Linked DNA regions of Homo sapiens: region 2 is linked to region 1. Evidence: promoter capture Hi-C in human tissues and cell types (Jung and others, 2019). All regions are on one chromosome and are shown on one strand. The core of a region is centred on a gene start or on the middle of the fragment in contact, and the rest is flanking DNA. Distances in the headings are between cores, read along the strand shown.

Region 1 (7,159 bases), core at 306-2,805:
AGGCAGCTTAGGATAATTATTTCAGCTTTATTGAGGGCAGATTAGTTGAAGTCTGGGCGCTGCGTTTCAATACGCGTTGTACACGGGCCGACAATGTGGTCATTGTTGGCTACTGTGTGTGAATCCATTCAACATATACACTTTTTAACACCAAACCGAGTCCTGTCTAAATATACACAGTGCTCAGGGAAAGACGTCTCTGACCCCGACAAATCTGCGTAAATCACACTTCCATAGTTACAGAAGCCTCACAAAGGGAGGCCCGGCTCAAGATGCTGATTACAGCTTCTTAAAAGCAACATACCTAAGAATAAATACCCATGCCTGGCCTAGGGGCTGTGGTGGCCAGAGGCAGAGAGGGCCCTCTGTGTTCTATGGGCCTTTTGGCGTCTGTTTTAGGCTTTCGATGTTACTTTCCCTAGAGAAATTAGACAGTTTAAAAATAATAATGGTAATTATTATTATTTTACAATACGAGCAAACAAGCAATTTTCAGGCCTTATTCACTTCATCCGGGTGGCTGGCCTCCAAAGTTTGAGTGCCCTCTGGGGCTGGCAGGCAGGACCAGAGCTCCTTCTGTTGTGTGGTGAGGAGTGGGCATCTGTAGGACTTTTCTGGGTCCAGAGGGCTCTTGGGCTTCTCGGCTCCCGCAGCTCCTCCACCACTCCTCAGAGAGGCAGCTGAATTCTGGGAAGAAACAAAGAGTTGAGTTGCTTCTTAAGATGGAAAGAAGTGTACTGTTTGGACTGTTATTTTAAAATACAGGGTGGTGGGGGAAATCGAGGCTCCTTGGCCGGGGAGGGAGTAAAGAGAAGCCTAATTGATGAAGAGGGAGTTGAGGTGAATGCGGTCCATGGGCACCGATGGGGGAGGCAAGAGCGGCCTCCAGCACCCTGGGAATTGGGCTCAGGCTCCCTGGCGCCAGATACCCTCGGAATCCGGGATCCCCGGCTGGCGCCACGGCCCGCTGGGCCAAGGTCGGTGCTTGGTGGGCCCCATGATCTCATCTCTCCTTTCTTCCTTGCCACTATTAGTGCTCACATAGGCAGAAAGAGGCGGCCCGACGTGCAAACCATGTGCAAACCGCGCCCGCTGGGCTGGTCAGCCGTCTTTCCTTGCCTGCCGACCTGGACTATGTGGAGCCTGGGGGACCCTCTTGCCTCCCAACAAAATCCCCTCTCTAATTGCACATCCCATTCAACAACTCTGCCCAGGGCTTTTCGAATTTCTGGATCAACTTCTTTAGGAAAAAGGGAAGAAGAAGTCTCAGAGACAGCGGTAGAGAAAAGAGGAGAGAGAGGGAGAAGAGAGAAGAGAGGAGGGGGAGGTAGCGAGATTAAGAGTTGCAAAGATAAAAAAAATTCTCTTTATCCCCCCACTTCTCCCTCCTTCCCTGCTCTCCCCCTCCCCCCGCCCTCTGGCTAAGTGGTAAAACCGTCCTTACGTTCTCGGTATTGATTGGCAGGGCTGACAGTGATTGGCAGTGGTTGCCGTGGCAACGCCACAACGACACGCCACAGACCAATAGAAAAGCGAAACAAAATGTTTCAATGCTGCACTCACTGTGGATTTAGGGGAGATATTATGAGGCTGTTGTCATTAGGGCGATTGCGGTGGAATCGCTGAATCTTGACTCGGCGGTGGTTGGCTCTCCCTCTCCTCTCTCCCTCTCCCTCTCCCTCTCTGTCTCGGGTTCTCTCTCTGCGCGCGCGCACCGGGCCGCTCTCCTACCTCCCTCTCTATGTGGCTGCGCGGGTGTGTGTGTGTGTGGATGTGTGTGGGGTGTGGGTGTCCCTTACGCCCTTCCTCCTCTCCCTCCTCCTCCTGCTCCCCCCTCCTTTCCTTCTCCTCCTCCCCCCTCTCCTCTCCCTCCTCCTGGTCCTCATCGCCCCTCTCCTCCTCTTCCTCCCCTCTCTCTTCCTCTCCCTGAATTTTCTCCTCTCCTCTCAGGTCAGTCCATGGTATTCCGCTCCCCCCTAGACCTCTATTCCTCCCACTTCTTGTTGCCAAACTTCGCCGATTCTCACCACCGCTCCATACTTCTGGCGAGTAGCGGCGGCGGGAACGGTGCGGGAGGCGGCGGCGGCGCGGGAGGCGGCAGCGGCGGCGGGAACGGTGCGGGAGGCGGCGGTGCTGGCGGAGCAGGCGGCGGCGGCGGCGGCGGCTCCAGGGCCCCCCCGGAAGAGTTGTCCATGTTCCAGCTGCCCACCCTCAACTTCTCGCCGGAGCAGGTGGCCAGCGTCTGTGAGACGCTGGAGGAGACGGGCGACATCGAGCGGCTGGGCCGCTTCCTCTGGTCGCTGCCCGTGGCCCCCGGGGCGTGCGAGGCCATCAACAAACACGAGTCGATCCTGCGCGCGCGCGCCGTGGTCGCCTTCCACACGGGCAACTTCCGCGACCTCTACCACATCCTTGAGAACCACAAGTTCACCAAGGAGTCTCACGGCAAGCTGCAGGCCATGTGGCTCGAGGCGCACTACCAGGAGGCCGAGAAGCTGCGCGGCCGCCCACTCGGCCCGGTGGACAAGTACCGCGTGCGCAAGAAGTTCCCGCTGCCACGCACCATCTGGGACGGCGAGCAGAAGACGCATTGCTTCAAGGAGCGGACTCGGAGCCTGTTGCGGGAGTGGTACCTACAGGACCCCTACCCCAACCCCAGCAAGAAACGCGAACTGGCGCAGGCCACCGGCCTCACTCCCACACAAGTAGGCAACTGGTTTAAGAACCGGCGGCAGCGCGACCGCGCCGCGGCGGCCAAGAACAGGTTAGTGGCGGGGCCCGCGGCCTGGCTACAGCCTCAGAGGCCTGGGAAGGGGAGAGGGGTTGAGATGGGGCTAGCGGAGCGGCCGCTGAGAGCCAGGGAAGCCGTGACTCCTGGCCAGTCGGAGAAAGTTTCCGCTTGTCCGGGACGCGCGGAAGAGGGGGCCGGGCTGGCTGTGGGTGTATTGATTGCTTTGACCAAGAGGGGCTTTCGTCAGGGCAGAGAGTGTGTGCTTGCGACCCGAGTACCCGCAGCCCCTGGGAGACTTAGCCCTGCGCTGCACCCGTGCCTGCCTCCTCAGCCCTGCCGCCAGCTCGGCGATCCTCTGGAGCCTAGAGACAGGGAGGGAAGGAAAGCACTCTTTGCCATCTGGTTCTTATTTCTGTGCGTTGCAAAACCCCGAGAGAAATCCACTAGCGTCAGAGAGAGGAAAGTGAACCTGGGTCCCTATCACAAGGGGAAAAGGCCAGAGGCCACTGCGCAGCGGGCCTGTTTCCCCGCAACGCTGCACGTTGCCTGACCGGGAGCAGGAGAGCCGGGCTGGGAGTGGAGAGGCCTAGCGTGTGCGTGTGCGTGTGTGTGTGCACGCCCGTGTGCATGTACTCGCCCTCCTGTTTCAGCCGAGGAGAATCCCTTTGGTCCTCTAAGCTGGGAAGCGGGCACGAGCAGCCTCGTTGCCGGCAAGTTGGCCACAAAGTCACAAAATTGTATAGGGCTTGACCAACATCACAGGAGCTGGGCCTGGGGGAAGGAGAAAAAGAACCAGAGGGAAAGAAGTGGATAGGCGAAAGGAGTGGGGAGAGAAGGGAGAAAGAAAAGAGGAAGTTGGGTGAAAGCCCTGATGTGGAGCCTGTGTCTTTCTCTATCCAGCCAGGAAGGCCCAGGGCCTGGTGTACTTCAGGGAGCAGGACCCCCAGCTGCTGACAGCTGCCCGTGGGTGGGGGCTGGGTGTGAGTTTCTGGAGGTGTGTTCGAGTTTAGGCGGCCGGGACCTGAGCCCATGGCCCTCTCACCCCTGCCGTGGAGCCCACTTTTCGTCTGATGAGGGGAGCGCCCAGGGTCAAGCCAAGGCCTCCTTGTGGAGAGAATTCCAGACACCAGGTCCAGGCAGAAGGTTCCCGGTGGGGGAAAGGGCAGCTGGAGACTGCTCTGTGCGCCTCTCTTGCCTTCTCCTTTGCCCCTTTTCTGTCTCCCTGCTCTTTCCCCACTTTTCCACCGCCAGCTTTCCTATTTTCTCTACCCTCGGTCCTGCGCTCTGCGCTGGCATCCAGAGAGCAAAGTATGCAGTTCTACCCGGAGACTGGCCGGGCGGTGGGGAACCCGCAGCTCCCGGTGTGTGTTTGAGGGAGCAGGGACGGGGTTACTAGGGGAACTCGACCGGTCGCGGGGCAGCCGGCTCAGTTTGAAGAGCCCCAGGGACTGCGGAGGGAAGAAGCGCCCGGCTCCTCTCCGACTTCTGCTTCTCCAGGGCTTGGCGTACTTTGTCGCTTGCACCCAGGCCTCCCCAAGCGGCCGGGCTCGGGTTCTGCCTCTCCTCCGAGGCCAGCCTCTATCTGAGAAGACTTGGGATGCTCCCGAAAGCGGAATGGGGAGCGGCGGCGCGGGGGAGCCGGGTGGCGGGCCTCTGTGTCAGGGCGGGCGCGGATCTCTTTCTCCCGCAGGCTCCAGCACCAGGCCATTGGACCGAGCGGCATGCGCTCGCTGGCCGAGCCCGGCTGCCCCACGCACGGCTCGGCAGAGTCGCCGTCCACGGCGGCCAGCCCGACCACCAGCGTGTCCAGCCTGACGGAGCGCGCAGACACCGGCACCTCCATCCTCTCGGTAACCTCCAGCGACTCGGAATGTGATGTATGATAGCCAAGGCCGCCCTCCTCCCTCTCCTTCCCCTCCTCCCCCACTCCTTCCCCTCCGCCTCCTAGCCCTCCTCCTCTTCCTCCTCTTCCTTCTCCTCCTCCATCCCCAGAACAAACCGAAATCAGGATACCCAACCATACACACATACAAGTCCACACACACTCCCACCCCAGCCAAAAATATATAAAAAACAAGAAAATAACAAATTAACCGCAAACTATCAACAACCCCCAACCACCATCTACCACTACGGCCACCCCAAAGGACCCCGACGCCAACAGACAGTCAAACGCTGATGTTGCGGGCAGAAAACATAAAAGAGGTGACAATTGTATACTTTCTAGGACAAGCACGGCTTCTCCTTTCGGTTCCCATGGACCCGGCACCCCACCTGCATGACGATTTATTTGTATCTGGGAAAATATTCTCTCTAGTTAAAAATGATTTAAAGAGTCGACTATACAAAAATCAATCACCACCACGAGGACAAGAGGGCAAAAGCAAAACAGACAAAAAGAAAAAAAATCGCCGTCTCCGTTCCGAATTTGTTAAAAAAAAAAAAAAAAAAAAAAAAAAGGACAGGGGGAAAAAAAAAAAAAAAGAACTCCTGGAGAGGGAAATAGCAAATGTGTCTTGCCTTTTGTTGCTCTCTCTCTCTTTTTTTTTCTCTCGCTCTCTTTCTTTCTCTTCTTCTCTCTGTTTTTAAGTCAAGTATTGGTCAAAAAAATGCAATCTTCTGTTTTTTGTTCAGCAGACAATCATTTTCTTCGTAAGCACCTTTTTCTCTCCACTCTGTCACTGCCTGTGTGGGTACTGGTTATAAATGTGGAAAAAGAATAGTTATGACTGTAACAGATTTTTATTTTTATTTCAAAATTTTATATGAATTATGTATATCTTAATGATCGGTCATTTTCCCAGTTTGTAATATATGTGTAGAAATTGCCTGTATATGATATTGCTTTTTCTCCTCTCCCTTTCTCTTTCTCTCCTCTCCCTCTCTCTGTCTTTCTCCCCGCTCAACTGTCTCTTTTCTTTTTGGGGTTCTCCTCCCACTCGGTGCTCCTGGTGTCGACTTGGCAGTCAAGGAGAGGCATGGTGGCCTGGGTTAGGAAGAGGGACCCTGTCGCTAGCAAAAGCGGAGAGTGAGATTGTAGTATTCTTATGCAAAAGCTATTTCCAGTATTTCTTAGCAGCTTCAGAGGTATCTCTCACTCCCTGTAGGGCGCTTTTACTGTTATCTTAAACTGCGTGTTTATCTATATGTAAAAACTTTCTAAAGCAAATACAGTATTCTCCATTTTCTTATCACTCCCAGAGACTGGTGTTTTTGTCTGCCCCTGGCCCGCAGCCGCGGGGTGCTCGGCCTTCACTTCCACTCCTGCTCACCTGAGCCGGGGCAGAATTTCAAGGCTGGATCTCAGCATTTTTTTTCCCCCCTGAGGGCATTGGGAAGACCAGAACAGGCCCTCCGGAAAAGAGCCAAAGCTGGATCCTGAGCAAAAAGGCAAAGATGGTTCAAGGGTTGGGAGCGGGAGGCTACCGCCAGTTTCTTCAGAGTCAGAAGCTAGGCCCACTTCACCACAGTATGCATTCAGCCGGAATTGTAGCCTGCCAAGACCCTGTGGGTCCTTGGGGGTGTGCTGGGCGTCTTTCAGTTGTTGTTGCTTTGTTTTTTAAAAGGAAAAACATACAAGGCCGCCAAACCCCAGCATCCATCCCGAGTAGAGCTGACAGGTTTTGTCTTCTTTTTGGGGGGTGGGGTGGTGGTGAGGACAGTGGCCTGAGTGGGGAAGGCAGGAGGAGTGAGGGAGGAGGTCGCTTGCAGAGTTTAGGGTCTAGAATCAGGATGGACTCCCCTCCTCACCTCCTGAGTGTGTGTCTATGTGACAGTGTGATTTGCCTTACGGCTCTCGATCTGTCTCCCTGAAATTTCTTCCCATCTCTGGGGTTCAGCTGGAGTCTCTCGAGCCCCTAAGACATTTCAGAGTTGGTTTACACTTTAAAATGAAAACAAAAAAGTCACCACCTCTTACTAACCATGTTCCCACTGGCCCCAAGGCCTCCATGCCCTGGCCGGGGCCCCCACAATTCCCTGGGATGGCTTGGCTGGCCGTGCATCTGCCGCTCTGGGCCAGGGTGGCCTGCACCCAAGGAGGAGCAAAAGGGGTAATTTCAGAAAACTTGCTTTTACTTGAAAGTCCAATTTCCAAAGCAAGGAGGATTGGGGGAAACATGCCTGGAATTTTGCATCCGTTTCCAAACTAATTTTGACTTCCGATTTCCTTTTGTCCCCATCCCCAGCAGCACCAGCACCAGGGGGTTTAGGAGGGCCAGGCTGGGCAGAGAGGCTGTCTGGCCCAGAGGTGCCCTGAGTGTTCCAGTGGGACCTTGCATGTCCAGGGCGTGCATTTGCCAGGCAGGGAAGGTTCCTGAGTGCGCCCCTACTTAGAACCAGAGCATCCAGCTGACCTCCAGAGCTCCCAAGTTCTGTGGCCTGGCACATGGTGTCAGAATCTCTGTGTGTGTTCACTGCTCGGGAAAA
Region 2 (7,901 bases), core at 4,876-7,375, 170 kb before region 1:
TTTTCTCTGGTCATAATTGCTGAAAAGTCAAATTCACAGTTTGCTGACATTGGTACATTGGACTAAGAAATAGTTGTCTTCGTGGTTGGGGGTGGGGAGAGTGTAGAACCCTAGGAGAATATTCTGCAGAGTTGGCACATCCTGGATAAAAGGTATAAACGGGCGCCCATGATATATATATATATATATATTTTTTTTTTTTTTTTAATAATGAGAGCTATTTCAGCTGGTGTGGGGTTCTGCTTCTAGCAAAAGAATGCCTCTGGTCCCTCCTGTACCTGCCCCAGCAGCGGGGATACTGTGTGCTGACCGGGCTGGCACGTGCAGTTGTGCTCCTTTGCAGGAGAAGGAGCTCGCCCAGAGGCCGGAGCAGTGAGCCGGGGGCCACGCTGGAGGGAGCGGGCAGCGCCGCTGCTCCTCGCCCATCCCCATGCCCTGCAGCAGGGCGCGAAGGCGGAGGCCCAAGGCAGCACCCCTGCCCCTCCAGCCCTGCCCGCCCGCCCGGGGCTCCGGGACGCGGCCGCCGGGAGCCTCCACCCTGGCGGCTTTTGTTGGCCGCGTGCTAATAGCCAGGGCTTAAAAGTTTTCCATCTTGAGCGGCAATCAGCTTTCTTCCTCTCCATCTCTGGCCAAAGCCCCCTCGTCCCTGGGACGCGCTGCTCCCCAATGGAGGAGCGGCGTTTTCCTTCAGGCTGCGTGTTATCCTCTTAGCCCTACTGTGTTGGAATAGAGCGTAACCAGCTGGAGGACTGTAAGACGCCTGATAATGCCGCTCTTTTCCGCTGTCCCGTCTTAATCTTGTTACACAAATGGTCGTGAAGAGATTCATGAATTTTAATTTTGCCCTCTGCATTAGTGCCTCGCGTCACTCATACACAGCTGCCTTCGAAGCCGAGTTTTTCACCCCTCCTCTTACAACAGGGGAAAAAATTAGTTACTTGGCAGTAGTGCAAGGTAAAAAAAAAAAAAAAATCTACAGATTTAGGCAACCACCCATGAAGCTGATTAACAGTCAGTGATCAGGAGGAACAGCTTTGCCTCTTAAACTTTTCACCTCTCATTGTTAACTGTGAAATTTTATTTCCGTTAAAAAGCAAGCCTGTAATCAAAACGGTGCCATTCCGCACTTTTCTGCCAGTGCTTTTGTTAAACTGTGCCCACACCATGCAGCCAGTGTGCTCAGGAACCAGGCAGCCAAAGGTGTAGCATGTTTTAAAAATATTGCTTTTCAGTCCATCCTTGCAAGGGGAGAAAAATAAAACACTTCCCTCTCCTCCCCAGCCTTTTGGTCTCCTCAAGGCTGAGAATCAAATTCATTGCCCTCATAGTGTGGTTCAAAACCTTTCGGATAGTAAGATAGCAAATCGTTTTGTAAGGTAGAGATGTGACTTCGAGATTACAGCTGGCTTGATGCTAGTTGGTAAAAATACTCTCATTCATGCAAATGTTCTTTGAAATATAATTTTACATGCCGTGGGTTTTTTTTTTATAAACTTTCGCAAAACCACCCTGAAGTGTTTATTTTTCTGTATTTTTGTACATAGCTCTGAAAATAGGCTTGGGCTGGGCTGTGAAGTCAGTACATTGTGTTAAAAACACGGCCATATTGCACTTCTGCTTATCTATTCAAAATGCCACATTACAAGTGGCTGGTGCTTATAATCTGTGTGGTGTGCTGTTGATAATTGTGGATACTGTAAAGGGTAAACAGTCTGAACTCCACTCCTGCTGCTGCTGTTCACGCCGTAGTAAGGCTGAGCGTGTTACATCCAATTATGAAGTAAAGCATAATGCTACTAATAGCAGCTATATAATTTAGTTTAGTCCTCAAAGACCCTGTTTTAACCTCTGAAATTGGAAAATTATTTTATTCATGATTTGCTTTTTCTTCATTTTCTTTCAAGGTGCCTTTTGATATTTGTCAAAATTGTAATTATTAATTGGGCAAGGAAGTACAGCCTGGGTAAATGGAATTATTCTTAAAACTCATAACATTCCCCCATCGAAGCAAGTATTGGCTAAGAGCTTTGTGTGTGTTCAAGTACCCTCACATAACAGACTTGCTTGATTCAGAAATGATCCAGGGCTGGGTTATAGTGTTGCCTTTGAGGGTTGTCAGCTCTTCCCCATTGTGGAAAGGTCTCACAGGCAAGACGGGGCTGGCCCCTGGCCCCTTTCAGCAACGAAGCCTCCACTTTGGCCTCCAGAGGTCAGCATAGAATCCAAGTTAAAAGTGATTTCTAACCCATATTTACAGAAGAATTATTTATCCCACATATTACCTCAGGGACTTTATAAAGAGCTCATTTGAGTCTCTGTATATTAGTGCATTGTGAGTGAGTAGGTCAGCTGACTGCCACTGAGTAATCAACTTTCCCTTATCCCCAATCCCCAAGGAAAGAATTGAGCTAGCTTGGTCCTCTCTTCCCTCTGTAAAATACTTCAGTGAGCTCCCTCTATCACTAGGGCAACTGGCAACAAAAGTATTTACAGTGGTAAGTCCCGGTCAGTGGGTATGGACTGGGAAGTTGGTGAAGCCATTTTCTCAGCATTTTCTAAAATTAGACTAAATAGTAAGGTTGGAGGACCTGTGTTTAGGCTTAACACTCTCGCTACTTTGGTAGCAGCAAAAATCCACAAGGATCTTCCTAAATAGACAACAAATCATCTGTACACAGAACAAACTCTGTCTAAGAAAACAGAATGAAGTCACCTCAGTGACTGTACCACCATCAGTTCTTGGGAAAGTAGATTGGAAAGTGGATTAGAAATTAAAGGCTGAATTAGCTTTATGTTCCCCAGCGGAAAAGGGGAAGTGGGCTCATGACTCCTGTCCTTAATAGTGACAGCATGTCCATGTCATGGTTTGGGAATATGATTTAGAAGGAACATGCACTTCGAAAAGATTCAAGTTAACATGCCCCAGAGGGACCAACCTGGGAGAGTGTGATGTTGAGGCCATTCATTTTGCTTTAGGGTGGGTGGAGTGGGTGGTGTTTGACTAATTTAAACAATAAAGGAATTGACTCCCTGTATAATTTAAAGAAATATTTATTTTTTTATTCTTATAATCTAAAAAGAAATTAACAATTGGCTCATAAATTCCAACTTCAAAAATATTAATTTTGTCTTTATAAATAGCAAATTTTTATTTGCTAGAATAAATATAAATATAACTTTAAAACTATTCCAGCTGAATGAAGAAAAAGTGTACTTCATATGTGAGAAACCTAACTGGATTTTAAAATCTTATCACAGAAATATCCTCAGAACTTCCCTGCACAGTATGAACAGGAATGTTGCTAGTCTAATTGTTGGAGTATGTTCTCCTCCTCAGAGAAAAGAATTTTTGAGTGACTTATTATTAATGTTAAAACCCCTAAGAAGCACCTGGAGAGCCTTTGCAGTGTCTTGGGCCCCACAAGCCTTTCCCTGTGCCCAGATGTTGCCACGGACTCCAAGCAGTGATCTGAAATGCCCGCCTGCCTGAATAGTGTGGCATTGGTCAGAGGCAGAGGGTACAGAGAGCAGAAACTTCTATGTCAAATGCCCAGTCAGGTGATGATGAATGAGCCCCAGCTCTGCCTTCTGTCAAGTGCCTCACAGTTTATAGAGGTCAAAGTGCAGTTTGGGTATTTATGAAAAAAACCCTACCCACCCCCACCAAAAACAATCCCCATGTTAATGTATAGAATTGTCACATTAGTGCCACTGAGAACTACTTTGAGTTGCTTTTCTGTGATTTATTTTTCCAGAACTATATATTTTGGTGTAAAAGTCATCATGATACTCAACATTAATATTGACTGGTAAAGATCCCTAATTGGAGTCCCCTTACCTTTTTCTTTCTATTATTGTTTTCAGTTGAAAAAGGAAAACCCGGACATATATGAAGAAAACCTTCATTACCCGCTTCTGCTTATTTTGACCAAACATGGATAGAAGATTAAGCTTCTCAAAGACGAAGAAACGTATCAAGTGCATAGGGAATATTTTTACAAAAACGGAAATCTGTAAGGGGTATAATCGCCTGCCTGCGCCCTTTGCAGCATTTCACGTGTGGGCTATGGACTCCACCTGTCCTCACCCACGTTATTCCCCAGCTGCCCTCTCCAGCTCCCTCCCCGCCTCTTTTTACACTCTGCTTGTTGCTCGTCCTGCCCTAAACCTTTGTTTGTCTTTAAATGTGTATAAGCTGCCTGTCTGTGACTTGAATTTGACTGGTGAACAAACTAAATATTTTTCCCTGTAATTGAGACAGAATTTCTTTTGATGATACCCATCCCTCCTTCATTTTTTTTTTTTTTTTGGTCTTTGTTCTGTTTTGGTGGTGGTAGTTTTTAATCAGTAAACCCAGCAAATATCATGATTCTTTCCTGGTTAGAAAAATAAATAAAGTGTATCTTTTTATCTCCCTCCAATTAATTGTATTAAATCCGCCATCCCTTTCTCTGTCCCTCTCTCTCCTTCTTTTTTTCCTTTTAAACAGTATGTTTTTTTTCCTATAGATGTATAAGAAATGACTACATCAGCCCAAAGCCTCATAAACTGACCGTTTGTCCTCTGGACACAATAGCGTGGCCAGCCCTCTGCTCCTCCTCCCCAATTATGTGTGATTAGTCTCAGTGTGCTGTGTCAAGGAGGGGGAGTGTGCTGAGTGCTTATTATCTGTTTAGGTACAAGAAGAGCACATTTAGGCTCTGACTATGAATGAAAAGTGAGCCTTTATCAGGGCTTAAATCTAACTGCTGCTGTTCTCCAGGCCTCTTTCAAAATAGGTCCTTCCCAGAGAAATTTTGAGTAAATGGTTGATAAACCAGATTGCAACCAGGGGGAGTTTTTTAAAAACTCAATCACACAATTATCTTATTTAAAATAAGTATATATTGTTATATGCTGTGATTCAAGTGTATGGTAAACATTTAATAGGTGCTACCTAGGATTAAGAGAGAATGACTTTTCTGCAGGGAACCCAAGCTTATCCTTGCCTAGTGCATCCATGAGATGCTCTAATGCCTTTTGTGGAAATTCAGATGTTTATCTGTAAGGAATCATCTGTGCCCACTTTAGCAGTAATGTCATTAGTAGGTTAGCTATATATCCTCATGTCTTTAGTACAGGCAAAAACATGTATTCAGTGTGATACAATTAAAGTGATAGGTGAGAGACTGGGGGTGCATCCTTTTGCATGTTAAACAAACTTAGCTGTCATAAAAGCAGCGACTCTCAAATGTCTTCTCTGCTCACTTCTATCATCAAACAAATTTTTCACCATCAGTTTGCATGTCCTTGTATTCACCACTTTTTCTGCTCCATTAGAGCACCTAGATGGATCTCAGAAGGCATAGGTCAAGTCGCAGTTAGATCATACATTTCTTTCTCACAAAAACTTGAATTGCAATGCCAAGTGATGGGCTAACATCACAATAACAGCAATTTATTCCTCTTTGGATAAAACAGCAGTCTATTCTCAGTGCTAGATAAAGACCAGGGCAATGCAAACCAGCCATTTAGCTGAGTAGTTCAGCTAGTGGCAGCTCTCCTTTGGTGACTGTATAGGTTGCACACTGGCTTCATATTTTCTTGTTTAAAAATTAGAATTTGGCATGTTTTAAAAGGCAACACAAGCCATTCCATTTATACTGGTGAAAATACAGCAAAATTATTTCCTGTGTAAAACCTGCAACTAACTCTGCCAGACAAAGAAAACGCATCCCTGTAGTAGCACCTAAGATGGTCTATTCTTTTTTCTTTTTAAATATGGAACAGCAGGACTATGAGAATATTTTCTTTTTTCTCTCAAGAAAATACGTGAATTGGCAAGAATTCAATTTGTATTTGTGTGTTGTGGGTGGAGAAATCCAGTGTTTATGTCTCTGGGAGATACTATATTTTAAAAAGTAAACTAGGAATGTATTTTTTTAAATATCTGAGAACAGTGTTTCAGAATTGAACTGTTGCTACCAAGAGATACGTAGTAAGGAAATTCACTTATTATGTAATTAAAACCTAGAGAATCTCCTATACAATGTTAAGGGTTTCCTAGATCTGCTCTTCATGGGATCCTCACCTGGAAATCTCTGTAGTCCAGGTTCTTTGAAAGTTTGTAAGAAATGTTCTATATTATTGAATAATTTTAGTTTTTATTTTCCCGAAGTTTAATGGAATGCCGATACTGAAAAGTGAAATAGAGCAGCTTTGAAAGTTTGTCCATTTACATTTCTTTTGAACTTTATGATTATTTCTATGAGTCAATTGCAATTGAAATGGCCCATTCCATAATTGCCTATGTAATTATGCATGTGTTTGTTTCAGAAAGGAAGCCTGTCTGCTTAGGAAATCCTAAGAATAATATTTCTTTTCTTTGTGTACCTTTATCTTCTGATAAAACTCATGATTTTCCTTTGTCATACTAAGTAGATTTGGTTGGATGAAAGAATGTTTCTAATATTGCCCGTGGTCAGTTCTAATGCTGTGAGATGAATAGCTACATACAAGTTGGTTATAAGAAATATATTTTACTTTATAGCAAGACATATGCCATGAATTGGGATAAAAGTGCTAGAAAAGACTACCTAAGAGGTTGATGCTATTTTGTATAAATTGTGTATTTTGTTGGCTTTTTGACTGAGCATGAAAATGTAACTTCCATTAGGGAAGGGTAATTTAGGTGCTCAGTATTCAGCAGAAAACTTGTCAGGGCCATAAAAGCTTTTCTGGCTAGTTCCTCGGGTGTTTTCAGAGAAGAGCTGCCCGCCCCTTGCTGATTTTCCCTTTGGCTTCAGTATGGGCTGAATTTACCACTGCATACCTGTTGAATCAATTTGGGGGATCCAGCAGTTAACTGAGTGAATGGAAGGATTAGTTGCCCTCTGGAGCCCTATTTCAACAGCCAGGTGTCTGTCCTAAACTAGTTAACTGCTTTTGACAGCTGAAGAACCTGGTTTTAATACCAGAGGCAGGAGGTAGTGGTGTTTTTTTCCATCTCTCTGCTACCAAAGTGGGGCAACCTGCTCATGAGGGTTAGGTGGTTTTTGTTTTTTAATAGGAACCTAGCTTCCATGGATTTTCTTTGTGCTTAGTCAGCATTTGACTTGTTTCCAATCTATGCCAGACAATTCATTAGCATTGTCTGGCAAGAACCTCTCACTGGACTCTGGGGGTGGGGCAGAATGCCCACATAGGGGAGAGAGTCAAAGTATATGTACAAGCATATACACACACACACTCACAGGAAAGATTAAGCTATTTAGACCCGAGATCTGGGCTCCAGCCGCCAGATTCCAGGTACATCCCCACCCTAGATCAAAATCCCCTGAGTTCAGGCTGTATGAAACATCATAATTATGTTGATTGTATACCATAAAGAAAAAATGGATTTGAAAGTCAGGCTGATTTTAGGCAGGGTAAATATGTTTTCCTGAGTGGACTACTTCCAAATTAGGAAGGATCCTGTTAGTGTTTATCAAACCATTAAGCCTGAAATGCCACTTTTAATTCTCACATTTCATTTTACCCAGAGAGCTTACCTTCCAGGCTGTGGCTAAATGCTCACAGTGTTCTCTGCCCTGGAAGTCTGTGCATTTGGAGTCTGTATTTTGCTTTTTTTGTCCCCCTGACTTTTCAATTAATACATTTTTTAACAGATAAAACAGATCATACCGTGACTTTTAAAATGTCAACAAGCTTGTAAACAGAAATGTAATAAAATGGCTAATAGGAGATTCAATAGTTAATAGAGGGCCTGAAGTGTGAGCAAATACAGTAGCTGTATATTGGAAACTGTGCAAGTGAAGATGGCTTTAGTATTGCAAACTGAGGAAGAAAATTGTTTTTAATTAGCACCTTCATAAGAACTGCTGATTAATACTGTTTTGTTTGGTGAAAAGCTTTCAGCTGAG

The links. The method cuts DNA at HindIII sites, captures the fragments that hold promoters and counts their contacts. A contact is called where the count stands out against the background at its distance.
Region 2: a contact is called between a fragment that was not itself captured here and the fragment with the promoter of SIX3 in region 1, in 1 of the 25 tissues and cell types used here (H1 embryonic stem cells).

What each region holds. Positions count from the first base shown.
Region 1 is chr2:44,940,147-44,947,305 of GRCh38, forward strand. SIX3 (SIX homeobox 3) reads left to right here and starts at 1,556. Exons shown (of 2, transcript NM_005413.4): 1 at 1,556-2,764; 2 at 4,422-5,925. The coding sequence starts at 1,959. The coding sequence ends at 4,614. SIX3-AS1 (SIX3 antisense RNA 1) reads right to left here and starts at 1,732. Exons shown (of 2, transcript NR_103786.1): 1 at 1,564-1,732; 2 at 8-687. RefSeq lists enhancers at 1-221, 990-1,516, 2,599-3,323, 5,613-6,119. The HindIII fragment of the contact is 28,963 bases long and covers 1-7,159 here.
Region 2 is chr2:44,768,172-44,776,072 of GRCh38, forward strand. CAMKMT (calmodulin-lysine N-methyltransferase) reads left to right here. Exons shown (of 11, transcript NM_024766.5): 11 at 3,865-4,421. The coding sequence ends at 3,942. Among named protein-coding and RNA genes, the nearest start is that of LINC01833, 170 kb to the right of the region's middle. The HindIII fragment of the contact is 3,323 bases long and covers 4,465-7,787 here.